Regions from separate parts of the Homo sapiens genome. Here regions 1, 3, 4 and 5 are each linked to region 2. The links are contacts of gene promoters, found by promoter capture Hi-C in blood cells and fetal thymus (Javierre and others, 2016). All regions are on one chromosome and are shown on one strand. The core of a region is centred on a gene start or on the middle of the fragment in contact, and the rest is flanking DNA. Distances in the headings are between cores, read along the strand shown. Region 1 holds the start of KIZ (kizuna centrosomal protein). Region 2 holds the start of NAA20 (N-alpha-acetyltransferase 20, NatB catalytic subunit). Region 3 overlaps XRN2 (5'-3' exoribonuclease 2). Region 4 has its middle 2.9 kb from the start of KAT14. Region 5 overlaps POLR3F (RNA polymerase III subunit F).

The links. Contacts are between HindIII fragments. The CHiCAGO score rates a contact against its expected background, and 5 or more counts as called.
Region 1: a contact is called between a fragment that was not itself captured here and the fragment with the promoter of NAA20 in region 2, in 2 of 17 cell types (non-activated CD4 T cells and activated CD4 T cells). The highest score is 6.1, in non-activated CD4 T cells.
Region 3: a contact is called between a fragment that was not itself captured here and the fragment with the promoter of NAA20 in region 2, in 3 of 17 cell types (non-activated CD4 T cells, naive CD4 T cells and total CD8 T cells). The highest score is 5.9, in non-activated CD4 T cells.
Region 4: a contact is called between a fragment that was not itself captured here and the fragment with the promoter of NAA20 in region 2, in 1 of 17 cell types (non-activated CD4 T cells). The highest score is 6.3, in non-activated CD4 T cells.
Region 5: a fragment that was not itself captured here is called in contact with the fragment with the promoter of NAA20 in region 2 in 1 of 17 cell types (total CD4 T cells); the score reaches 5.7 in total CD4 T cells.

The regions. Positions count from the first base shown.
Region 1 is chr20:21,123,804-21,128,878 of GRCh38, reverse strand. It overlaps KIZ (kizuna centrosomal protein), which reads right to left and starts at 2,797. Exons shown (of 13, transcript NM_018474.6): 1 at 2,675-2,797. The coding sequence starts at 2,763. RefSeq lists enhancers at 2,279-2,328, 3,229-3,328 and a silencer at 2,489-3,068. The HindIII fragment of the contact is 481 bases long and covers 3,221-3,701 here.
Region 2 is chr20:20,014,743-20,019,785 of GRCh38, reverse strand. NAA20 (N-alpha-acetyltransferase 20, NatB catalytic subunit) reads right to left here and starts at 2,424. Exons shown (of 6, transcript NM_016100.5): 1 at 2,337-2,424. The coding sequence starts at 2,389. RefSeq lists enhancers at 1-1,161, 1,623-2,123, 2,738-2,917 and silencers at 2,178-2,297, 2,348-2,417. The HindIII fragment of the contact is 8,583 bases long and covers 387-5,043 here.
Region 3 is chr20:21,305,188-21,310,341 of GRCh38, reverse strand. All of the region lies in intron 1 of XRN2 (5'-3' exoribonuclease 2), which reads right to left. Among named protein-coding and RNA genes, the nearest start is that of XRN2, 4.4 kb to the right of the region's middle. The HindIII fragment of the contact is 4,700 bases long and covers 909-5,154 here.
Region 4 is chr20:18,132,521-18,137,358 of GRCh38, reverse strand. It overlaps a transcript of KAT14 not described here. Among named protein-coding and RNA genes, the nearest start is that of KAT14, 2.9 kb to the left of the region's middle. The HindIII fragment of the contact is 2,828 bases long and covers 1-2,664 here.
Region 5 is chr20:18,474,646-18,479,624 of GRCh38, reverse strand. POLR3F (RNA polymerase III subunit F) reads right to left here. Exons shown (of 9, transcript NM_006466.4): 5 at 4,438-4,550. Among named protein-coding and RNA genes, the nearest start is that of MIR3192, 6.5 kb to the right of the region's middle. The HindIII fragment of the contact is 2,714 bases long and covers 1,753-4,466 here.

The DNA.
Region 1 (5,075 bases), core at 2,212-4,711, 1.1 Mb before region 2:
TACCATCTTCAGCTTACTCTACTAATATCTCAGTGTCAGTTTCTAGACTATTATGATATCTTACTCTGAATCAATATAGGCACTGAAAAAACCGCGGCTGGCTAATGGGCCCTTTTAAAAGGATGTTTTTGTATAACCGTAAGAGCCAATTCCACTTATAAGTTTCTACCATGCTTGTGGGTGCTATACACACTGTAACAAGTCACTCCATTAGACTCTTTTAGATTCAATTATTGACTTTCACCACAATGCAGAAAAAACACTGTACACACATAGGAAAACATTCAGACGATAAAATTACATCTACGTGTAACTACAGCTAACATGACTTGGGCTGGAAATATGCTGGTTATTTGACCAGCTAACATTGCAATGACCACCTCTAAAAGGGCTGAGAAAGAGGGAGTTTTTTTTTGTCTCCCACTTCCCAGAAGTTTCTGGATTGATAAAGCAGCTGTGACTACCCAGGGTTGCTCCCTATGAAATGACTCAGGAATTTTAGGAGACAGTGGTATCTGTGATCAGTGGGATGCTTTGTGTTTCTTTGTTTAAAAAGGTACAACCAAGGCCGGGTGCAGTGGCTCACACCTGTAATCCCAACACTTTGGAAGGCAGAGGCAGGCAGATCACCTGAGGTCAGGGGTTCGAGATCAGCCTGGCCAACATGGTGAAACCCCATCTCCACTAAAAATACAAAAATTAGCTGGGGTTGGTGGTGGGCGCCTGTAATCCCAGCTACTAGGGAGGCTGAGGCAGGACAATCGCTTGAACCTGGGAGGTGGGGGTTGCAGTGAGCTGAGATCATGCCATTGCACTCCAGCCTGGGTGACAGAGTGAGACTATGTTTCAAACAAATAAACAAACAAACAAAAAGGTACATCCAAACACTCAAATTGGATACAGACAATAATATTCTTTACACATTGCTTTGCAAAACTACAGCTTTCAGCTTTTTTTTCTTTTTTTACTTTAAGGCCCATTATTCTAGCAAAGAGAGAAAGAAAAAAATCTGTGGCCTTACTTTGCATATTAGTCAAGCCCCCTCATTCCTGGTAAAGAACCAAGGTTCAGAGAGGTGGAACAACCTGCTCAAGGTCACACAATTGTTCGTGGACTAGAATCCAGGTTTTGATATTTCTACTGCAGCCTTTTCTGTATCTAGAATTATTTGCCTCTATAACTGTGTCCAGTGTGCATTAATTTGAGTTAGTTATAAATTCTTAAAATGAAAAATGAACACACACAGCAACAGATTTGTACTGACTTAAAAATAAAACAAATCTCGAAATGCAGAACCGTGAACAGGCTATAAAATTTGATTCACATTCCTTATATATTTTCAACAGCCTCACCTTGTTTAATAATTAAATAAGTGTTAATCATAAAGTACATAATTATTATACAGTTATTGTGCCATAAGGACTATAAACAGCCAGGTGTTCCTAGCACAGGAAACAAAAATAACTTACAATTAATAGTTCAAAAAGAATGCCATTTATGAGTGCTGTAAGAATGCCAAGAGTCACAAAAGTTAGGGAATGGGTTGAAACAGGGAAGGCTCTACAGGAAGAGATTTCTTTTTAAAGTCAGAAATTAAGAGGTCACTGATATGGGTGAGCGGTGACATGTCAGAAAGAAAATAGGACGTAGAAAAGGAGTACAAGGTAAAAAAAATGCTAACGACAATTAAGGAAGCCTGTTGTAGATGCTCTATAAATATCTGACAAGAATTAAATCTAGCGTAAGATAAATGTAATTCCTTTTCAAAATCGCTCACTTCTGCCTTTATTTTCCATGTAATTATTGTTATCATTTTAGCACTGTCACGCACACAGCTCTCCTGTTCACTAGAATGATTTTGTAACTTTTAACACTCATTAAATGTTTTGTTTATCAAGAGATCCAAAAATGTATTTCCTTTCTTGTCAACTAATGAGAGTTACAACTCCAATTAACTTAGCAGCTAAATAAGAGGTCCAGCAATTTATCTTTTACGTGGTTATTCATAGTACATTGCGGTATAATTTTCTCTCTATATGCACTCTTAGATCTAGCTGTTTTCAGTGGTTCCCATCTTTCATATCTTAATCAAAGGCATCATGAACCCTCTGGAAGCTGGACTTCTCTAGCTGGAAATTTCATCCCTTCGCTGGAAATCTAGCCAGCCCTCGCTACCCCTAAAAGTCTCCTGAGTTTAAACGGGGGCACATGTTTGACACACACACACACAACCGTCTGCGTTCCAGGACTTGTCATCATTGATGCAGTGCAGCTGTCACGGCGGGATGGCAATTTGAAGAGAGTGGGGAGGGGGCGTGTAAAAGGGGACAAGAGAAACTCACAAGGCTTGATGGAGAGTGACAGGCAGAAGAACTCCCACCTTCACTTCTGGGCAAATTCTGTGACGCGGCCGCATCCTCAAACCGTAGACCAGGCTTTAGCTGCTATTGACGGGGCGGGGGCGGTCTCTCACCTCTCTCCGCTCCCACCCCCAATACAGGGGGTGGCTCTAGTAAACACTGTCCTCCAGGCCCCACTGGGAGCCTGGGGGGCGTTGCGCGCGGGCCTGGGCCCCGGGGAACCTCGGACGGGGGAGCGGGAAGGAAAATGGGGCAGGGCACGCGGAAGACCCCCGGCGCGGGCCGACTCCCCACCCCCGCCCCAGTGCCCTTACCTGTCCCGCAGCCCGTGCTGGAGTTGGCCCAGCCTCTCGTAGTAGTCGGGACTCGACAGGGGCACGGCCGATGCGAGGGTCCGGCTCATGCTGCTGCCGCTGCGCCAGCTCAGCACAGCCTCTGGGTGGCCGTTCGGCCGGGGTTGCCGAAGGAGACCGCCCCACCATGCACCGCGGGTAAACACCGCGCCGGGCCGCCTGCAGGAGGCGGGGCAAGACGCCGTGGGGGCGGGGCGCCGCTGAGGGACGGGGCGGAAGCCGGCTTTGTGGGGGGCGGGACGAAGACCTGCATGGGGCGGGGAAGAGGCGTGGCAGAGGCGGGGCGTCGTGAGGCCGGGGCGGACCACGTCGGAGGGGCGGGCGCTCGGTGCCCTCTCCTCTCTCCCTTGACGCGGTGTCTCCTTTCCCCTCACCTTCCAGGATTCGCACAAGCTACGTTAATGTTACAAGGCGCATTCCCTCCCTTTCTTTCGTCTCTCGCTTGCTTCTTTTCCTCGATCTCCTTTCTTGCCAGGATTTGTTGAGTGCCAGGCACTGTACTAAGCTTGTTCTATTATATCAGCACTCAAAAGCGACACAAAACACCAAGTAAAAAAAGACAAACCCTCAAATGCTAAACAGCCGTGCTCAGCCCCGACAGTGGACCAACCCCTTACTCGAAAATCCGTGCTGAATCTAAGGATTGTTCCAGGTGCCAGTATCGTTGGCGAGAGGGAAAAGTTGATAACTAGTTGCTTGGGAAGCAGACGTTTGTGCAGACAGCTCTAAGGGACAATGCTCCTAATGTCCTGTAGGATCCTCTAGCAGGAGCCCGGGAGCCAGACTGCCTGGGTGTACATTCCCTATCCACGTCCCAGCTGCCAAGCCGTGTGCAAGTCACCCCAGGTTTCCTCATATGTAAAGTGGGAGGCTGTTAACACAGGATTAGTTTAGGATTCGATTGTTAATATGTGTTAGTGTTTATAAGTGGGCCCAGCACATAGAAAGCATCAGGTTTTATTATCATCACCAACGTCGGGAAAAAGCTTCCTGAAGGAAGCCAACCATATTTCAAAACCCACTGGGCAGAAAAATTAAGCCTTAGCCTGCTTCTCTGCCTTCCTTTCCTTTTTTTTTTTTTTTTTTTTGAGACAGAGTCTCACTCTGTTGCCCAGGCTGGAGTGCAGTGGCGTGATCTCGGCTCACTGCAAGCTCTGCCTCCCGGGTTCAAAAGATTCTCGTGCCTCAGCCTCCTGAATAACTGGGATTACAGGTGTGCGCTACCACACCCAGATAATTTTTGTTTTTTTTGGTATTTTTTATATTTTAAGGAGAGACGGGGTTTCACCATGTTGGCCAGGCTGGTCTTGAACTCCCAACCTCAGGTGATCCACCCACCTTGGCCTCCCAAAGTGTTAGGATTACTTGCATGAGCCACCATGCCCGGCCTGTAGAGTTTCTTTAGTCTCTTATTGTTCACTTCTTTTGGTTTCTTTCCTATGCCATTAATTTTACTTACACATACAAGGTGCAAGGTGTGACAAACTAAAATTGTAAGAGAGATGGAACACTCAAAGGCCAACAACACAAAACTATGATTTTACTCAGCCTTCCATTCACATTTGCCAGTTCCAGGGCAAGAGTGTGAATGGAGGCCCTCATACCATCCGCCTAAATATTGAATTATAATTCAAGATAACAAACTTAGGTAAAATACGTGTTCTCCTCTCCACTTTGACCAATATGCCTTCTTAAGAACCTGGACAACCAGGGTGGAATTTAGTTTGCCTGCTTCTCCAGCTCCCCCCAACTCCATTTCCCACCCCAGGCTCAGTCTTGCTTTGTGAGGGGGTCTCATACACTAGCAGGGATGTGTGTGCCCTGCCTCTTCTCCTCCTCTTCTCCAGCCAGCAAGTCCCAACTCTGCCTACATCCCCACCTCAGCCTCCTCTTGGCCGGGCAGTGAGCATGCCAGTGATGGTCACCCTTGCAGGAAAGACCCAGCCAAGAGGCCTTTTAAAGCCTTAGAAAGCAGCTTGGGCCCCTTTGAGCAGGGAAGGTAAGGGTGTTGGGTACTTAGAACGTGTTCTAGAAGAGCATGTGTGTGTATGTGTGTGAGCACCCCAGGTGGGCCTGTCATCTGGCCCTGGGACCTCCTTGCCTTGCGTGGAGCAGCATGGGCAGAGAAGGGCTAGAACAGAACCTCTAATACACAGAAGCCAGGGCAGAGGCCTTCTTGCCCTGGTCCAAGGGTAGCACTGATGTGACTTTTATTTAGTTTTTATTCAGATTATATCCAATTGATTCAGTGGTAATGTGCAAAGGTTTATTTTAATGAGTTTAGTGTAACTAACATTTTACTACAACCCTGGCAAAGAAAAGAAAAGCATTAAATTTTTAGGATATTTTATTTAGGACCATG
Region 2 (5,043 bases), core at 1,175-3,674:
AACAAGACCCTGTCTCCACAAAAAAATTTAAAAATTAGTGGGGTGTGGCAGCACGTGCCTGTAGTCCCAACTACTCGGGAGGCTGAGGCAGGAGGATTGCCTGGGCCTGGGAGCTTGAGACTAAAGCGACCTAGGATTGTGCCACTGCACTCCTGTCTGGGCAACAGAGCGAGACCCTGTCTCAAAAAATAAAAGAAAATGGGGAATAAGTGGAGTTCCCCTACTGGCACCTTCTGAAGAGGCCACATGATTCTCTGAAATCTAATATTTTCTTGCAAGTGTTCCTGTGTATTTTCTTTCTATTCATTTCCATGTAAAACTGTTGTCCTTTCCTAGATCTTCAGTTAAAACTGATTCTCCATGAGGCTCTGCCTTTTCTTGAAGCTTCAAGGCACCCTGTCACCTCCCATGCTGCACCTCCCAAACTGAAGCCTCTGTCAAGTCATCGTCTCTGGGCCACTGCCAAGGCCTCCTGAATGGCTTACCTGCCCAGTTTACCTGCTGTCATCACATGACAGCCCACAGAGCTCAGTGGTTAAGAATTTGAATCCATCACCTGGATTCTACAGTGAACACTTTGCTACACTGGCTTCATCATTTCTCTCTGCCCACCTATCAATCCTAGATCCACTTTTAAAAACAACAGGGCAGTAAGTGAAAACGAAAAACCAAGTGGTTCCGATTCAAGGGTCAGGAGGATAGAAAGGACTATGGGATGAGATGGCTGGGAACACTTTAAAGAGAGGGTGAGCCTCTCCAGAGGCTCCAGGTGGGTTAAGACCCACTCCAGAGCAGTGGATCGCAAACGGAATGTGCGTTTCTAACATGGTCCCCTGACCACAGGCACCAAGTCTTTCAGAACCACTGCTCCAGAGCCAATATCCTTGGATGAAGTTCCTCGCTTTACTCATTCTCACCTGGGCCAATTCACTTGTGCTTGCCATGCCTTGGTTTACTCATACACAAAATGGGGGTGACAGCACCTCAAAGAATCGTGAGGATTAACTGGATTATTACGTGGGCACTCAGAACAATGCAGGGAACAGTGAGTTCAACACAAGTCACCGTAGCTACCAGACTGGCCCAACAGAAAATTCTTTCCACAGGATCAAGTCTAAACCCCTCCTGTTTCACCCATTTCTTCCTGACTGCTCAGTGGCAGAAACCAGCCACTAGATTCGCACTGATCCCAGTTGTCTGACCGCACTTCAAGTTTCCCCATTTTCATGCCCCGCTCCTTCTCCGGAACTTCCGTCTTCCTCACTTACCAATGTGTTATCCATCTTCAAGGCTCACCCCCTCTTTGAAATGTTCCCAGCCATCTTATCCCATAGTTCTTTCCATCTTCCTGACACTTGAATCGGAACCACTTTGTCCTTAGTTTTCACATACCGCCCTGTTGTTTTTTTAAAGTGGATCCAGGACTGATAGATGGGAAGGAAGGAGAGATACCAGCGTAGCAAAATGTTAACTGCAGAATCCAGGAAAAGTGTCTATAAAAGCACATGGTGAAATTCCTCCAACTTTTCTAAATGTGTGGGAATCTTCATAATAAAATGTTTTCTTAAAAAAAAAAAATTGGTACCTGCAAATCAGAGGTCTGGCCTTAACTCGAATCCAAAGAAACTGCATCCAGGGCTCTGGGCACAGCGAGCCTCCCCTAAGATCTGCCGTGACTCCTCACAGAGGAAAGGTGTGTACACCGGGGTGCGCAGCTACAGTAACTAAACTTGCAAACACTAACCATGACTGAGACAGCATCTGCTGCAGGGGACGCAGTGATCAGTGTCATTTCATTTGGATACAATTTAACCACGGCCACCAGGTGGGCTTCACGATGTACACATCCCAACAGCTGCTGACCAGCTTCCGATCCTCGCAAGCCCCCTCTGCGGCCTGGCCGTCGGCGGTGCCCTCTGCCCAGAAGAGGCGCGGCCCGGCCACGAACCAGCAAGCAGTAGGGCAGGGCGAGAAGCCCAGGTCGTGGGCTCCAGGCCGCGTCTCCAGCTCGCCCCATCACCCCAGCGCCTCCTGACAGCGACCACGAGCGGAGGCCCGAGCGCTGCCCCAGAACCTGCCAGCTCGCAGGGTCCAGAGACAAAGTTTGAGCACCTCGGCCAAGGTCGCCAAGGCCGGCGTGCGTCGACTCCAGGCCCACCTCTCCCTGGACCCTGTGGCCCCAGGGAGGCGCCCACGTTGGCCGGCGGGGGGTGGTTCTCGCGGGTCCCCGTCCGGGCTTGGGGTCCGGCCGGGAAGGCGCGGCTGGGGCCGGAGCTGGCGGGGCCGGGAAGCGAGGCCCGGCCAAGAGCGGCTGGCCCTAGGCGCGTGTCACTCACATGTTGTTGAAGCGGAACAGGTCGTCGCAGGTAAAGGCCCGTAGCGTGGTCATCGCGCCGCCGCCGCTTCCGAAGACCGTTCGCCAAGACCCCGCGCCCGCCCTGCCGGAAGTCTCCCGGAGCGTGGCCGCCGCGGAACCGAGCGAGACGGGGTACTGCTTCCGGGCTACGAGTTGCTGGGCAACGACAGCAGCAAAGCAGCTTCCTCTGGCGGCCGGCGGCGGGAATTGCCAGGTCGCTCCTGTAAGGCCTCCGGGGCTGTGGCTGCCCAGAACCTCGGAACCCCTCCCAGGCAGCGGCTGCAGAAAGCAGGCGGCGACACCTGGGAAGGAAAGAAGCTGCTGGTGATGCGGAAACCCAAGCAGAAGAGCGGAGTTCGCAGCCACCCGGTGCTGCAGAGTAAATGAGGAATGGGAGAATTTATGACCCAGAATCCCTTGTCCCAGTGTTGCGAGTTGCAGATGTCATCTTAAAATGTCAATACCACGTTTAAAAACAAAAAGAAGGCCGGGCGCGGTGGCTCACGCCTGTAATCCCAACACTGGGAGGCCAAGGCGGGCAGATCACTTGAGTTCAGCAGTTCGAGACCAACCTGGCCAACATGGCGAAACCCCCTCTCTACTAAAAAAAAAAAAAAAAGGAAAGAAATAAAAATTAGCTGGGCGTGGTGGCACGCGCCTCTAATCCCAGCTACTTGGAGGCTGAGGCAGGAGAATCGCTTGAACCCAGGAGGCGGAGGTTGCAGTGAGCCGAGATCTCGCCACTGCACTCCAGCCTGGGCGACAGAGCTAGACTTGGTCTCAAAAATAAATAATAAATAAATAAAAGCAAAACGAAATGTAAAATTGATTTTGATAGTACGCTTTATTTTACCCATTTATTTTTCCTATTTGGGAAAAATATTTTTCCCTGACCCCACTTTATTATACCCGAAATATCATTTCAACATGTAACCAATCAATACTCAACATGTAATCAATCAATAAAAAAAGGAATGTGATATGTTACATTCTTTTTTGCAAAGACTTTGAAATCCGGTGTGTATTTTACATTTGCAGTGCATTTCAATCTGAGAGAGCAGCTGTCATCGGAAATGCTTGTTCTCTATTTAGATTTCATCAATGTATGGTTAAAAAGCAGATTCTCATATCCAAGCGGTTCCAAATATACTGTTTTCAAATCGCTGAACCAAACATCAGTTTTTAAATTTAAAGTAGTTAAAATTAAAAGTTAAAAATTCCTTTATTCAGACCAGACACAGTGGCTCACACCTGTAATCCCAGCTACTTGGGAGGCTGAGGTGGGAGGATCATTTGAGCCCGGGAGGTAGAGGTTGCTCTGAGACATGATTGCACCACTGCACTCCAGCCTGGGTGACACACCAAGACCCTGTCTCAAAAAGATAAGATAAAGAGAGATAAAATACATAAAGCAAGCAGGAATGCTGAAATGTATTTACACATGAGTGTTAAACTGGTCAATATCCACAGAGCTGTAATCACTGTCTCTCCTGGGCACTGTATAACACTATGCATTTGTATTTTATGGACAAGAAAAATTTTCATTACTATCAATTTTCCTCAGCTTACAAATTTGTAAAATTTTGTATTGTCAAAGACAATAAAAAGCAGAGAAAACCTGGAAACGTGTACTAAACAGTAATCTTTTTCTGGCCATTTCAAAGTGTTTCATAATTTTTTGTGTGTGACATGAACTAATGTTGATTTGAATTTTGTTCCTTATGAAGTAGTGAAGGTTTTTATAATATTTTTGGCTCTGATTCATTGGTATTATAAACATTAGAAGTTTATAGCTACTTTATGTTTGTATCTAGGTAATGGTGGAATAAACATGATTTTGATTTTTAGAAAAAAACACTGTGGGTTTAACACAAAGGTAGCATTGGAACCCTGCAGAAACTGGATGCTGTAGGCCAGCAGTTTGCAAGCACCGATACGAATTATTATTCCGATTTTGAGGCACAGATCAGAAATATCCTATAGCTACGTGGCCATTCCAACACATGGGGTCAGGGGAACGTGCAGGGCAGTACAGAGAATATCCTGGATATTCACCAGCTGGTTCTCCCTTCTCTCCTGTTTGTCTACTTATTTTTAAACTGTTATCAGTTTCCATTGCTGATTGCCTCCTATGAATTAGCATCTCGAAGGGTGGCCAGTAAGTGCCTAGCAAATATTGATTAAATAGCTGAGTGAAAAAGTGGCACACAGGTTACCCAGAAGATAATGTCATCCTTGGTAGTTTACAAAGAGGGTATTCACATTCTCAACAAAGGTATTTCACCTCTCTTTGCCTCAGTTTCTGTAAAAGGTGCATAATCATAGCACCTACTTCATTGGATTATTATGAAGATTACATGAGTTAATATTTGTAAAGCAGTTATAACAGTGCTTGCCACATTTTAAGTGCCATATAAGTGTTTGTTAAGAAAAATAATGAAATTAAGTATCTTGCATTTTGAAGGATCAGAATCTGGAGATGTAGAGTTAGGAGAGGCACAGCCCTCAATCATAGACCTTAGCACAAATGGCTCTGGAGGGGTGATGTTTGCTCATAGTCCCCGATGAGCAGCTTAGAGGAGATGGGTGGGGCTTTGGAAGCCGCCTCCCTTTCCTCTTATTGTCTTGCTTCAACCAGAAAAGTCTACATGTTGACACACTTGTTTTATGGGTTTTAAAAATACCTT
Region 3 (5,154 bases), core at 2,009-4,508, 1.3 Mb before region 2:
TTCTGAACCAGTCTGATAAACTTCAACAGACCTCAAATTAAATATGATCTCTGATAAGGGAATTAAATTAAAAATCACGAACAGGAAAAAATACCTGGAAAATCTCCCATGTGTGTGAAAATTAAGTCACACTCTTAAATAACCAGCGGGCCAAAGGGAGTTTTAGAACATATTTTTAAGTGGATGAAAATGAAAATACAACATGTTAATATTTGTGGCACACTGTTTAAACAATATCTAGAAGGCAATTTATGGCACTCAAGATCTATATCAGAGAGGAAGAAATGTCTCAAAACAATGACCTCAGCTTCTACCTTAATAAACAAGGAAGAGAAAAAACAAGTTAAACCCAAAGTAAGCATAACAAATACATATAAGAGCAGAATCAAAGAAATAGAAAACAGAAAAACAATAAAGAAAATCAATGAAACCAAAAGCTAGTTATCTGAGAACAGTGTAGCCAGACTGATAATGGGACAAAACAAAGAAAGTAGAATTACAAGTATCAGGAATGAAAGAGGTAACATCACTACAGATTCTAACAATATTAAAAGGATAATAACAAGTTAACAGGAAGAAAAAAGAAAACAAAAGAGAAGTAAAAACAGGAGTGAAAACATTTTAATAACAAAAAAAAAAGGATAGTAAGAAAATACTATGAACAACTTTATGTCAGCCAATTCAACTACTTAGATCAGGGGTGTCCAATCTTTTGGCTTCCCTGGGCCACTTTGGAAGAAGAATTGTCTTGGGCCACTAATACTAACGACAGCTGATGAGCTGAAAAAAAAAGAAAAGGTCTGTGCATAAATCTCATGATGTTTTAAGAAAGTTTACGAATTTGTGCTGGGCCGCATTCAAAGCATCCTGGGTTGCATGCAGCTTGCAGGCCACAGGTTGGACAAGCTTGACTTAGATGAAATGGGCAAAATCTGTGAAAGATACAAACTAAAAAAGCTCATCCAAAAAATAAATAAATAAATAAATAGGTAACCTCAATAGTTCTAGATCAACTAAAGAAACTTAATTTGCAGCTTAAAGCCTTCCCACAAAACTCCAAGTCCAGATGGCCTCACTGGTAAATTCTATCAAACATTTTAGGAAGAAACAATACTAACTCTACACAAACTCTTCCAAAAAACTGAAGGAACTCAATTTGAGGTCAACATTATTCTGACATCTCAACTACACATTACAAGAATGCTACAAATATCTTTTGTGAACAGAGACACAATTCTCAAGAATTCTCAAGAAAACTTTAGCAAACTTTAGCAAACTTGAATTCAACGTATATAAAAATAATACAACATGATCAAGTGAGGTTTATCCAAGGAATGCAAGGTGGCTTTAGCATTTAAAGACCGATAATTCACCATATGACTAGACCAAAAAATGGAAACCACAGAATGAAGTAAAACTATAAAACTTCTCTAAGAAAACACAGGAGACCTTGGCTTTGACAAAGGATTCCTTAAATACAAAAAGCAGAAATATAAAGGGAAAAAATTAATCAGACTTCATTAAAATTTTTAAATGTTTGCTCCCAAGACACTGTTAAGAAGTAAAAAGACAAGCCACAGATCAAGAGAAAATATTTGCAAAAGATATATCAAACTAAGGATTTCTATCTAGAATATGTAACAAACTCTACATTTAAGTAAGACAACCGAAGATAAAAATGAGCAAAAGATCTGAACAGATGCCTCACCCTGCCCGTGATGATATACAGAAAGCAAATAAGCATCTGAAGGAAATGCAAGTTAAAACCACAATAAGGTAACAGTACACTGGACTACCTAAAACTAAAAGGGCTAACTATATCAAGTGTTGGTGAGGAAGTTGAGCAACTGGAACCCTGATATGCTGCTGATGCCAATGTAAAATGGCACAACCAGTTTGAAAAAAAAAGTCTGGCAGGTTTTTCTTTTTAAGTAATCACACACCTAATATACAATCCAACCATTTCACTCCTAATGTTTTTCCCCCAAACAAATGCAAGCATACGTCCCTACAATGACTTGTACAGAGATGTTCATAGGTTTCTTTTTCAGAAAGCCAAAAACTGGAAACAATCCCAATGTTCATCAATCATCTGAATAAATAAATAAAATGTGGTGTATCTACACACAGAATACTATCCAAAAATTAAAAGACGAGGCAGGCAGATACTTGAGGTCAGGAGTTCAAGACCAGCCTGGCCAACATGGTGAAACTCCATCTCTACTAAAAATACAAAAATTAGCCGGGTGTGGTGGCATGTGCCTGTAATCCCAGCTGCTTGGGAGGCTGAGGCAGGAGAATTGCTTGAACCCAGAAGGTGGAGGTTGCAGTGAGCCGAGATCGCACCACTGCACTCCAGCCTGGGCGACAGAGCGAGACTCCATCTCAAAAAAAAATAAAAACAAAAAAGAAATAAACTACTGACACATACAACAACGGAAGAATTTCAAAATAAGTATACTGAATGAAAGTAACTGAGGCAAAAAATGAGTATATACTATATAATCTCATTTATAAAAAATTATAGAAAATGAAAACTTATCATACGGTCAGAAAGCAAACCAGTCAGTGGTTGGCAAAAGACAGGTGGCAGGGAGGGATAGTAGAAAGGAACTACAAAAGGGCAGAAGGAATGTTTTAGAGGTCACGTTCACTGTCTTGGTTGTGCTGGTTTCACAGATGTATGCACTGTATTAAATTATATACTTTAAGCCCAGGACTTTGAGGCTGCAGTGAGCCATGATTGCACACTACATTCCAGCCTGGTGACAGAGCAAGACCTCAACTCGAAAAAAGTTAAAAGAAAATTGTACACTTTAATTACCTGCAGTTTATTCTATGTCAAGTATACCTCAACAAAGCTGCAAAAACACCAAAGGTTGGGGGAGGTTTCAAGGAAAGCCAGAGAATGAGAGAGAAAATAAAAATAAAAATACATGAGTCTAAGAGGACCAGTATCCTGAGTCTGGAAAGGGAAGAAAAAAAGGTCAAGAAATCATCAAACAGCATTCCCTAAAACCGAAGAACGTAAGACTCCAGACTCAAAGAGTGAGCCACGTACTGATCAAAATGAATCTGAATTTAAAATAACATCTATACCTGGGTACCTAATAATGAAAGTTTACACTATCAAGAAAAAGATCTTTTTAAAATCTAGGAAGGAAAACTGATCACAAAAGAATGAAAGCATATGAGCATAAAAATTAAGTCCTTCTGGTTTCCACACTAGCTCTGACATTTATCAGCTGAGTGACCTTGGGTATGATACGCGACCCTGCTGTGTTTCCATTTTCTCATCTGAAATAATAATAAACATAACAATAATCATTATTTTTCTGAGATGGAGTCTCGCTCTGTCACCAGGCTGGAGTGCAGTGGCGGGATCTCGGCTCACTGCAATGTCTGTCTCCCGGGTGCAAGTGATTCTCCTGCCTCAGCCTCCCAAGTAGCTGGGACTACAGGCGCGCCACCATGCGCAGCTAATTTTTGTATTTTTAGTAGAGATGGGGTTTCACCATGTTAGCCAGGATGGTCTGGATCTCTTGACCTCGTGATCCACCCACCTCAGCCTCCCAAAGTGCTGGGATTACAGTCGTGAGCCACCGCACCCGGCCAATAAACATAGTAATTATTATAACATAATAACAATATTGGTTGTCTCCAAATAACGTGCTTCTATTATTTGTATGTAATAAAAATAATTACAACAGTAGAAGTCATGTGGTTGTGAGGATCAAACAAGTTATAATAAAGTTCTTAAAACAATGGTAAATGCTATATAACTGCTGGTTAAATAAATACATCACATTAACACCGAACTTGTCATCAACACTACTAGATGAGAGAGTACAAAAGAACAATTTCTTTCAAAGTTCTGAGGGAACCTAATATTAAAACTGGAATTCCTGGCCAGGTGCGGTGGCTCATGCCTGTAATCCCAGCACTTTGGGAGGCAGGGGCTGGTGGATCACCTGAGGTCAGGAGTTCAAGATCAGCTTGGCCAACATGGTGAAACTCCGTCTCTACTAAAACTACAAAAATTAGCCGGGCGTGGTGGCGCGCCTGTAGTCCCAGCTACTCGGGAGGCTGAGGCAGGAGAACGGCTTGAACCCGGGAAGTGGAGGCTGCAGTGAGCCGATATCACACCACTGCACTCCTGCCTGGGTGACAGAGCTAGACTCCGTCTCAAAGAAGAAGAAAAAAAAAACACCTCGAATTCCATGCCTAGCTAATGATCATTCACGTGTATAAGGGTAGAATGGAGCTATTTTGGGTCCTACAATGACTCGGAAATCTCACATCCCACACAGCATTTCTTAAGAATTAAGAATAAGGAGGCCAAGGCAGGCGGATCAGAAGGTCAGGAGATCGAGACCATCCTGGCTAACACGGTGAAACCCCGTCTCTACTAAAAGTACAAAAAAATTAGCCAGGCGTGGTGGCGGGCGCCTGTAGTCCCAGCTACTTAGGAGGCTGAGGCAGGAGAATGGCGTGAACCCCGAAGGCGGAGCTTGCAGTGAGCCGAGATTGATTGAGCCACTGCACTCCAGCCTGGGAGACAGAGCGAGGCTCCGTCTCAAAAAAAAAAAAAAAAGAATTAAGAATAAAAACTAAGAAAACGATTTAAAGGAAGAAAGATGGGCCGGGCGCCGTGGCTCACACCTGTAATCCTAGCACAAGGGAGGCCCAGGGAGGCGGATCACGTGTGGTCAGGACAGAGACCAGCATAGCCAACATGGCAAAACCCCGTCTCTACTAAAAATCCAAAAAAAAAAAAAAAAAAAAAAAGGCCACGTATGGTGGCTCATGCCTGTAGTCTCAGCACTGTGGAGGCTGAGGCAGGCGGATCACCTGAGGTCAGGAGTTCGAGACCAGCCTGACCAACATGGCAAAACTCCGTCTCTACTAAAAAAAAATCAGCTGGGCGTGGCGGCGCACACCTGTAGTCCTAGCTGCTCTGGACGCTGTGGCAGAAGAATGGCTTGAACCCAGGAGGCCAGAGGTTGTAGTGAGCCGAGATCATGCCACCGTACTCCAGCCTAAGAGACATAGCGAGACTCCGTCTCTAAATAAATAAACAAATGAAGTAAGATGATGATCCAGAAAACAGTACCTCCCACTGAAGAAAGATATGATAGCAATAATAATAATAAA
Region 4 (4,838 bases), core at 1-2,500, 1.9 Mb after region 2:
TGGTTTCACCTTGACGCTGTGGGGCGACTGGTCAGGCTCGGATTATTATTATTATTATTATTATAATTTTGATACAGAGTCTCTGTCTATCGCCCAGGCTGGAGTGCAGTGGCGCGATCTCGGCTCACTGCAACCTTACCGGATTCAAGCGATTCTCCTGCCTCAGCCTCCCGAGAGGATTACAGGCGTGAGCCACCGCGCCTGGCCCCATGTAATCTTTGTGATCACTTTTACACCCAAGTTTCCGCGCCAGTAATACAAGGGAAATAAATGATATAAAGAAGTCTTGCGTTGGGAATAGTTAAGCAATTGTGCAAGACGCATTTTCACTTCTTCCTCGGGTAAAAAAGGCAAGGCCTCCCAGAAACTTTTAAGTATCTGATAGAGCAACCAGTGAAAACGTGTTCATCATTCAATCATTCTTTCCCACTAGAATTCACAGAGAACGAGCTTCTTCCGGTGGACACGGCTATAGGCAGTATTGATTAAGCCTCACCAGGGAGTTTTACAACATTCATTACTGTTCATAGTGCTTTGCTATTCCAGTCTCTTATGTGAGCGTAAATGGCATAAGGGGACTATTGCTCTTAAAGGTATCTTTAAAGATACCTTTTCCAAATGTCATTTTGTCCACAGCATTTTTTGCAGCCTAGAGAGAATGTACCACTGAATTGGAAAATGGAGTTCTTGCTGTAATGAACTTTGAGAAGAAATTCAGTTCAGGGTGTATTTGCATATTTCTCTTTAAAAATTATATTAGACTTCTTTTTATTCGTGGTATATCCTAGATATTTTCCCCTGTAAATCAGTGAGCCTTCAACAGAGCTGTATGTCCTTAGAGTGTACATCAGGGAATTAGATCAATCGCCTTTCATTTTATTGTGACTAATTTTTCAACTTGTTTTCTTGAAATGTACTCTTTTCTTTATTTTCAGGATACTAGAAGCAAAAAAAAAAGTATTCTACTTTTAAGAAATCATTTATTATTAACTGTGTCAAATAAAAAAGTGGGTTGGGGGACTGAGGGAGGTCTTGCAAAAAAAAAAAAGTATGTTTATCTGTTTAAATATTTATAAGCCTAAGCAGTATATTTTCCGTGATTATTGTCGCATAAATTACTGATTTGTGAGAGTGACTGCATATCATCAAACTGAGAAGCAACTATTTTTTTCTTTTTCTTTTCTTTTCTTCTTTTTAATTGAGACAGGGTCTCACTCCGTCGCCCAGGCTGGAGTGCTGTGGGGTGATCTCACTGCAACCTTTGCCTCCCAGATTCAAGCGATTCTTGTATCTCAGCCTCTGGAGTAGTTGGGGTTACAGGCCTGAGCCACCAGGCTGCACTAATTTTTGTATTTTTAGTAGAGATGGGGTTTCACCATGTTGGCTAGGCTGATCTAGAACTCTAGTACTGGGTGCTGGTACTGGGTGTTTGTGAAAATTGGTCCAGTGGCACACCAAGGCTGTGTGGTCACACATACATGCATGATACACTTCTATACAAAATCTTACATAACTATACGAACAGAAAAAAAATGGCTCTTTTTTGTTTCTTTTATTGTCTTTATTTCCTTTTGATTTTTTATTGTGTGTTTTTTTCTTTTTTTTCCCATTGGTTCATAGCCGATGGCTTTACATTTTATCATCACTTCTTGTATCAAATAGCTTTTTGGCTGGGAACGGTGGTTCATGCCTGTATTCCAGGCACTTTGGGAGGCCAAGGCAGGTGGATCACTTGAGGTCAGGAGTTCGAGAACAGCCTGGCCAATATGGTGAAACCCCGTCTCTACTGAAAATACAAAAATTCGCCAAATGTGGCAGCGCATGCCTGTAATCCCAGCTACTTGGGAGGCTGAGGCAGGAGAATTGCTTGAACCCGAGAGGCAGAGGTTGCAGTGAGCCACTGCACTCCAGCCTCGGTGACAGAGTGAGACTTCAACTCAAAAAAAAAAAAAAAAAAGTTTTTTCTCCATGGTAACTATCAAAAATTAAAGAGATGATCATTTAAAAAGATTTTGATCAGCCAGGCGTGGTGGCTCACACCTTTAATCCTAGCACTTTGGGAGGCCAAGGAGGGTGGATCACTTGAGGTCAGGGATTCGAGACCAGCCTGGCCAACATGATGAAACCCCGTCTCTACTAAAAATACAAAAATTAGCCAGGTGTGGTGGTGGGTGCCTGTAATCCCAGCTACTTGGGAGACTGAGGCAAGAGAATCACTTGAGCCCGGGAGGTGGAGGTTGCAGTGAGCCGAGATCAAACCACTGCACTCCAGCCTGGGTGACAGAGTGAGACTCCATCTCAAAAAAAAAAAAAAAAAAAAAAAATCTTGATCAAGAACTATGTGCAGGAGCAATGATCAGGAACTATTTTTAACACAAAACTTGATATTTAAAAGAGACTCCAAGAAGAATGTTATCAGGAAATTTTACCCAAAGTTGATATTTAAATCTACCCCAAGATTTGCTTTTATTTTTCTTCTCATAATTATATGTCATTTATTTTTTTGTTTTTCTTTTTCTTTTTTATAAGAGTACCATATAAAGGAAATGTAAATAATTATTATCCATGAAGCTCCTTTTAGAATTATCCAAGCTCACGCAAGTTGATCCCAGTGAGTTGTACAGATATCCTTATTTTTTATGTTTACCAAGGTGGGACGAAGCTTAGGAAGCATGGCTGATTTAATACAATTTGCTTGTAAGGCCAGAACATCTGAACCTTGTGTATCTGGCTATATTCTAGTGTCTCGGCATCCTAAGATCACATCAGTTCCTGCCCCTCTCAGCTTTGGATTGACTTAGGTGTGCCCAGAATGGCCACTGCTTTCCTGGAGAGGACAGTGGGTGCCTTGCCCTGCCATTGGCTGGCCTTCAGAGTGAACTTACCTCCAAAGACAAAAATAGGAAGCTGACCACCTTAAAAACCGCTCAGTGGCTCCCCATGCCTACAGGATAAAGTCCCATACTCTTTAGAACAGCATACTACCCTGTCCTTCCCTTCAGAATCCTCTAAGCAAGAGGCAGCATCAAAAAAGAAGTACAGTTGGAAGTCAGGGCTTGGAGAAGAATCAACAAATGAAAACTAAGGGGAGGGAATGCAGTCATTTTCCTGTGTTTGAACAACATGGTCACACAATCTTTGTTCCACCTTCACTCACACAAGGGTGGGGACTTGAAAAAAATGCCTTCCTCACTGAGTGTGTAATTTGGCTTATGTTATTTGGGCTTGAATCATGGCCAGGTCCTGGCAGCTATCCTGGGAGAGCTGGGTTTCGGGTCACTTCTGTCTTAAAGAATAGTAAATCACTAGTACCCTAGCAGGAGGTATCAGTAGGAGGCACGGGTTTAAACTGGGCTTGATGGTGGGCATGAATGCAATAGGTCAAGGCAGAGGCTTCAGGCAATGATCAGAAGCTTGTCATCATTGGGGCTGAGAGAGAAGGAGGAGGTGGGAAGGAGGAGGTTTGTTTGGGAAGAAGGTGGAGGGTGTCAGCTGAACTGGCACCAGTGACTGATAAATTTATCAGTCTCAGCACTAAATGATTACAGAAACATCACACCACATGGCACCGCATAAAGCACCATTATGACTATTTTAAATGCAAGCAAGAAGGCTTGCCTTGTGTATGGCCCTGTAGTGGGCTCTATAGGCAGACAAGGCCACGAAATCCCACCTTCTTCAGGCTGAGGCTCTGAAGTCAGCACATAAGGAAAAAGTCAAAAACAGTTAAAACTACCCTTGAAAACATTTTAGGAAGGTGACATGTTGAAGAAAATAGATATTTTCTCAGGAACTCCAAAACAGCCAGTTTTTCTTCTGGTACTGGAATTAATCACCATGAATTCAATGCAGTATCTATATAAGTAATCTGAAATTCTGCACAGGTTTGTCTCTTCTCTCCCATTTAGTAACTGATTCAATCATTTGTTTCTATCAGTGTGGACTGGTGGGTATTTATTTTATACTTTGGGTTATAATCCAATATTACTTTATTTTGTTGCTCAGATGGCTCCCGCTTTGGCCGTTGGGAGATCTTTCAGCTCCTCTGCTTCTCTGACGGACCCTCATCAATGTGTGTTTTTCTTGTTTAGCACTTGTCTATTTTCTGACACTGCACAATATTCTGAGCTAATCTTGTATATTTCCTGCCCAAGTCTCAGAATCTGCCATTTCTCCAAGAATCCAAGGTTCTTTTTATTGTAGAATAATATTGGAATCCAAGATATAGGTCCTGGCATGCTTATTGCTACTGGGGCTTTGTTTCTTTTGGGCCCTCTCAGCTGACAAAGCACATAAATATATGTGTGTATACTTATCTGTGTATGTTACATATCTGCAAATATTTCTATATGTAATCACCTGAATCTATATTGACTAAAATGTGAGATATTGCTGATGTCTGCAACTCTAGTCCATTACCAGATGGATTATTCTAACCTCCTTTTTTTATTGGTAAATTCCTACTCCATCAGTGAGAATTCAGGCTCCCATTTTCCACCATCCACTTGCGCAATTGTTTGATTCCAGTGTACATGTATAGCAGTTTCAGAATTGTTTACCTCATAATTATATGTCATTTTTTTTTTGTGGGAAACAACTTTACCTACTAGAGTACCATGCTTTTTTGCAGTTCCTATTGCTTTTGGCTTTATAGACCTCATTTACTCCAAAGTTACCAAATCAGCACCTTTGCCCTCCACCCCTTCAGTGATATCGTTTCATATGTTTGCAATACAGTTAGATGCTCTTGTCATGGTTTGCACTTTTTCCTAGGATCTTCCTGAGAGTATTTTTTTAACTCCTTTCTTTCTTTCCTTTCTTTCCTTTCCTTCCTTCTT
Region 5 (4,979 bases), core at 1,860-4,359, 1.5 Mb after region 2:
TTCATTGTTATTCCCACACTGGAAGCTTTGGAATGCTTTGGGCATTGGAAGCTTTTCACTTGGTTCCTGTATCCCTTTGCTATGCTCCCATCGTGTGTGTGTGTATTTTAGCACTTTTTTTTTTCTTTTGGAGACAGGGTCTTGCACTGTCGCCCAGGCTGGCGTGCACTGGTGCAATCTTGGTTCACTGCAACCTCTGCCTCTTGGGTTCAAGTGATTCTCCTGCCTCAGCCTCCCGAGTAGCTGGGGCTACAGGCATGTGCCACCATGCCCAGCTAATTTTTGTATTTTTAGCAGAGACGGGGGTGTCACCATGTTGGCCAGGATGGTCTCGATCTCTTGACCTCGTGATCCTCCCGCCTCAGCCTCCCAAAGTGCTGGGATTACAGGCATGAGCCCCCGTGTCCAGCTATTGTAGCACTTTCTTACTTTCTAGCACTACAAGATGTCAAGAGCATTTTCTTTTCTTTTTTTTTTTGAAACGGAGTTTCGCTCTTGTTGCCAGGCTGGAGTGCAATGGCACACGATCTCAGCTTACTGCAACCTCCACCTCCCAGGTTCAAGCGATTCTCCTGTCTCAGCCTCCCGAGTAGCTGGGATTACAGGCGCCCGTCACTATGCCCAGCTAATTTTTTTGTATTTTCAGTAGAGATGGGGTTTCACCATGTTGGCCAAGCTGGTCTCTAATTCCTGACCTCAGGTGATCCACCCTCCTTGGCCTCCCAAAGTGCTGGGATTACAGGCATGAACCACCCTGCCCAGCCGTCAGGAGCATTTTCTACATGTTCATTTTATTGCATGATAGAAACCACGACTTGGGCACTAGATGTGTTCATTGCCATCGGGATGTCATCACTTCTAGGCCTTCTCAGTTGGCAGCACGAGATTTATGTGCGCATATTAACCCTTGTATATATACATAGCTATACTCAATATTTCTAAATATAACCATCTATATTATTTATATTAAATTACACAAGAGTCCATACTGATGTTTTCAAGTCTAATCCATTACTACATGGATCATTCTAACTTTCCTTGTTTGTCTGTAACTACTCACCCCAACACTGAGGAACCCAAATTTCACTGGGTTGTAAACATGAAGAATTTGGGCCAGGCATGGTGGCTTATGCCTGTAATCCCAGCACTTTGGGAGGCTGAGGTGGGCAGATCTTTAAGTCTAGGAGTTCAAGACAGGCCTGGGTAACATAGTAAAACCCTGTCTCTACAAAAATACAAAAATTAGCTGAGCATGGTGGCACGTGCCTATAGTCCCAGCTACTTGGAAGGCTGTGGTGGGAGGATGGCTTGAGCCCAGGAGGTTGATGCTGCAGTGAGCTGTGATTGTGCCACTGCACTCCAGTCTGGGTGACAGAGCCAGACCATGTCTCAAAAAAAAAAAAAAAGAAAAAAATTTGGCTAGACTTTGTCCCTTTTTCCTAGGAAATAACTTCTACATCTTTGGAATTTCCCAATAGGCCTTGTTATTCATGGTGAATCCCTTAGATCACACCTGGGTTTATGCTAACAAGGTGACTCCTGATAGGACTCTAAATAGTTTCAGGATAGGAGTTGTCCATGCTGGAAAGACCAACCGCATGATTAGAGGGTTGGGGCTTTGGGCCACATGACATCAGTCCAATCTCTTGGGAGAAGAGAGGAGCTGGAGATTGAATTCACTCACATGACCAAGGATTCAATCAATCATGCCTGTATAATGAAACCCTAATAAAAACTTTGGACAGCAAAGCTTGGGTGGGCTTCCAAATTTGGTTAATGCTTCTGTCATACAAAATAATTTCACCACCCTAGAAATATTTCTCATGCTTCACCTATTCAACTTTCCCTACCATCCCTGCCCTCACCCCGATCTTTTTAGTCTGTCTAGTTTTGCCTTTTCCAGTATGTCATATAGTTGTAATCATACAGTATGTAGCCTTTTCGGACTGGCTTCTTTTACTTAGCAATATGCATTTAAGATTTACTCATATCTTTTCATGATAGCTTATTTCTTTTTATAACTGAATACTATTCTGGTTTGTCTATCCATTCACCTATTGAAGGATACCTTGGTTGCTTCCAGTTTTTGATTATGAATAAAGCTGCTGATTACGAATAAAGCTGCTATAAATATTCATGTAGTTATGTGGACATGAGTTTTCAAATCAGTTGGGTAAATACTTAAGAGCTTGACCTTTGGACAATGTGGTAAGACTCTGTTTAGTTTTGTAAAAACTGCCCAGTTTTTTAACAAAAGGACTGAAAATTTTGCATTCTTAGCAATGTATGAGTGTTCATCTTGGTCTGTATCTTGTCAGCATATGGTATTACCAATTTTTAGATTTTAGCTATTCTAATAGGTGTGTAGTGGTATCTCACTATACTAAATTTTATTTTAATTTGCAGTTCTCTAATGAAAAATAATGTAGAGCATCTTTTCATATGCTTATCTGCCATCTGTATGTCTTCTTTGGTGAGGTTCAGATCTTTTGCTCATTTTTAGTTGGATTATTTGTTTTCATTGTGTGTTTTTTTTTTTTTTTCTTTTTTTGAGATGGAGTTTCGCTTTTGTTGCCCAGGCTGGAGTACAATGGTGCAATCTTGCTCACTGCAACCTCTGCCTCCTGGGTTCAAGCAATTCTCCTGCCTCAGCCTCCCAAGTAGCTGGGATTACAGACATGTGCCACCACGCCTGGATAATTTTGTATTTTTAGTAGAGACAGGGTTTCACCATGTTGGTGAGGCTAGACTTGAACTCCTGACCTCAGGTGATCCACCCGCCTTGGCCTCCCAAAGTGTTGTTTTCTTATTGCTGAATTTTAGGAGTTCTTTGTATATTTTGGAGACAAGTCCTTTATCAAATATGTGATTTGCAAATATCTTTTAGTATGTAACTTGTCTTTTCATTCTCTTAATGTGTCTTGCAAAGCAGAGGTTTTCAAAAAATTTTGATAAACTCCAACTTATTAACATTTTCTTTCATAGACTACTATTGGAGTTATAGTCCAAGAATTCATTAACAAAGCCAAGGTCATGTAGATTTTCTATGTTTTCTTCAAAAAGTTTTATAGTTTTGCACTTTACACTGAGATCTAAGATTATTTTAACCCTTAAAAGGACACAGAAGTTCACCAACGGATGAATGAACAAAAGGTGATATACATCTATACAATGGAATTTTAATTGGCAATAAGAAGGAATAAAGCACAATATGGATAAATCTTGAAAACATCATGCTAAGTCAAAGTAGTCATACATAAAAGACTACATATTCTATTATTCCATTTATAGGAACTGTCCAGAATAGGCAAATCTATAATAAAGGCAGAAAATAAATTATTCGTTTTTAGGGCCTATGGAAAGAGAGGCTGGGAAACAAATACTAGTGGCCACATTTGGGGGTGATGAAAATGTTCTAAAATTAGAACAGCGGTGATGGTTGCACAACTCTTAGCTTATAGTAAAAACCAGTGACTGTAAATCCAAAGATTTTACACTTTAAAAGGTTGAATGAATTCTGTAGTATGAATGATGAATTATATTTCAGCAGAGCTGTTATTAAACATAAAGATGTAGAAGGAGGACTGACAAAATGAGGCTACATGATAGGGTTTTATTATATGATTTTTTCTACCTTTGTATATATTTGAAATTATCCATTAAACAATGTGGAAGGGAAATGCTATTCTGATAAATAAAATCACTAATAAGCATCAAATTCTTATAAGTGATGTTATAATTCTTATAATTCTTGTTTTATTCAAAAATAAAAACTTGAAGCAACATATGTAAGCGGATATTTGAGGAAAGGTCTACTCACTGCCACAGACCTAACAGCTCTGAAATTATAAAATTTGAATTATAGCTGTAATTCTTATGAAATGTGTATTGAAGCAAACTTTATTCTAGGGGAATCTCAGTTCCTCTGATGTCTAAATCAGTGAGGTCAGGGGCAGATGTCCCCGAGGGAGCCAGCTCTGGAGCAGGGGTGGGGCAGGATGAGGAGCAGGAAAAACACACGTGTACTAGAAGAGAAGCTCCACCAAGGCAGGGATCTTTCTACGACTTGTTCATTAATGTATCCCAAGCACTCAAAACAGTGTCTGGCACACAGCAAACACTCTTTGTTGAATGAGAAAGCTAATATGTCGGGATAAAGTAAATTATCTTACACACCACAAAATCTAGGAAAAATGTTCACAGTTCCAAAGATTCTTCACTGAAGACAGTAAAGTAGTTTTAGATTTTTGAGTGGGTGAGTGAGACACCAAGAGCTAACTGTGTAGGGACAAGTCTAAGCAGCATCTCCAAACCAATCCAACATGAGCTAAATTTTTAAGTCTTTTTTGACCAGCTGTTCTAAATCATGACATAACTTCAAGAATAAAAACTTGAAGCAACATATGTAAGTGGGTATCTGAGGAAAGGACTACTCACTGCTACAGACTTAACAGCTTTGATAAGCTTTTTACTTTCCAGATTCTTCAGAATTTTGTTGATTTCTGTTAATGGCAAATTACTTTTATAGCGGATATCTCTGCTCCATATTCCTATAAGAAAGTAAAGTAAAATAAGTTGAACTCTGGTTTTCATGGATTTTTAATGTTATTCCTCTAACTTGTGTCTCATTCCAAAGCTAGCAGTATAAAGCTAACAGTAAAGAATGCTGGCTAAAGTAGCAAAAGTATGCTAAACAATAAATAAGTATAATGCTTTGTAAGACTTATTATAATGATTTATAATTTCTAACTAGAAATTTCTTGGAATCCCAGTGTGGCAAACTTTTAAAAAACTTATGGAAAGGGCTGGGCATGGTGGCTCATGCCTGTAATCCCAGCACTTAGGGAGGCCGAGGCAGGTGGGTCACCTGAGCTCAGGAGTTTGAGACCAGCCTGGCCAACATGGTGAAACTCTGTCCCTACTAAAAATACAAAAATAATTAGCCGGGCCTGATGGCATGCACCTGTAGTCCTAGCTAC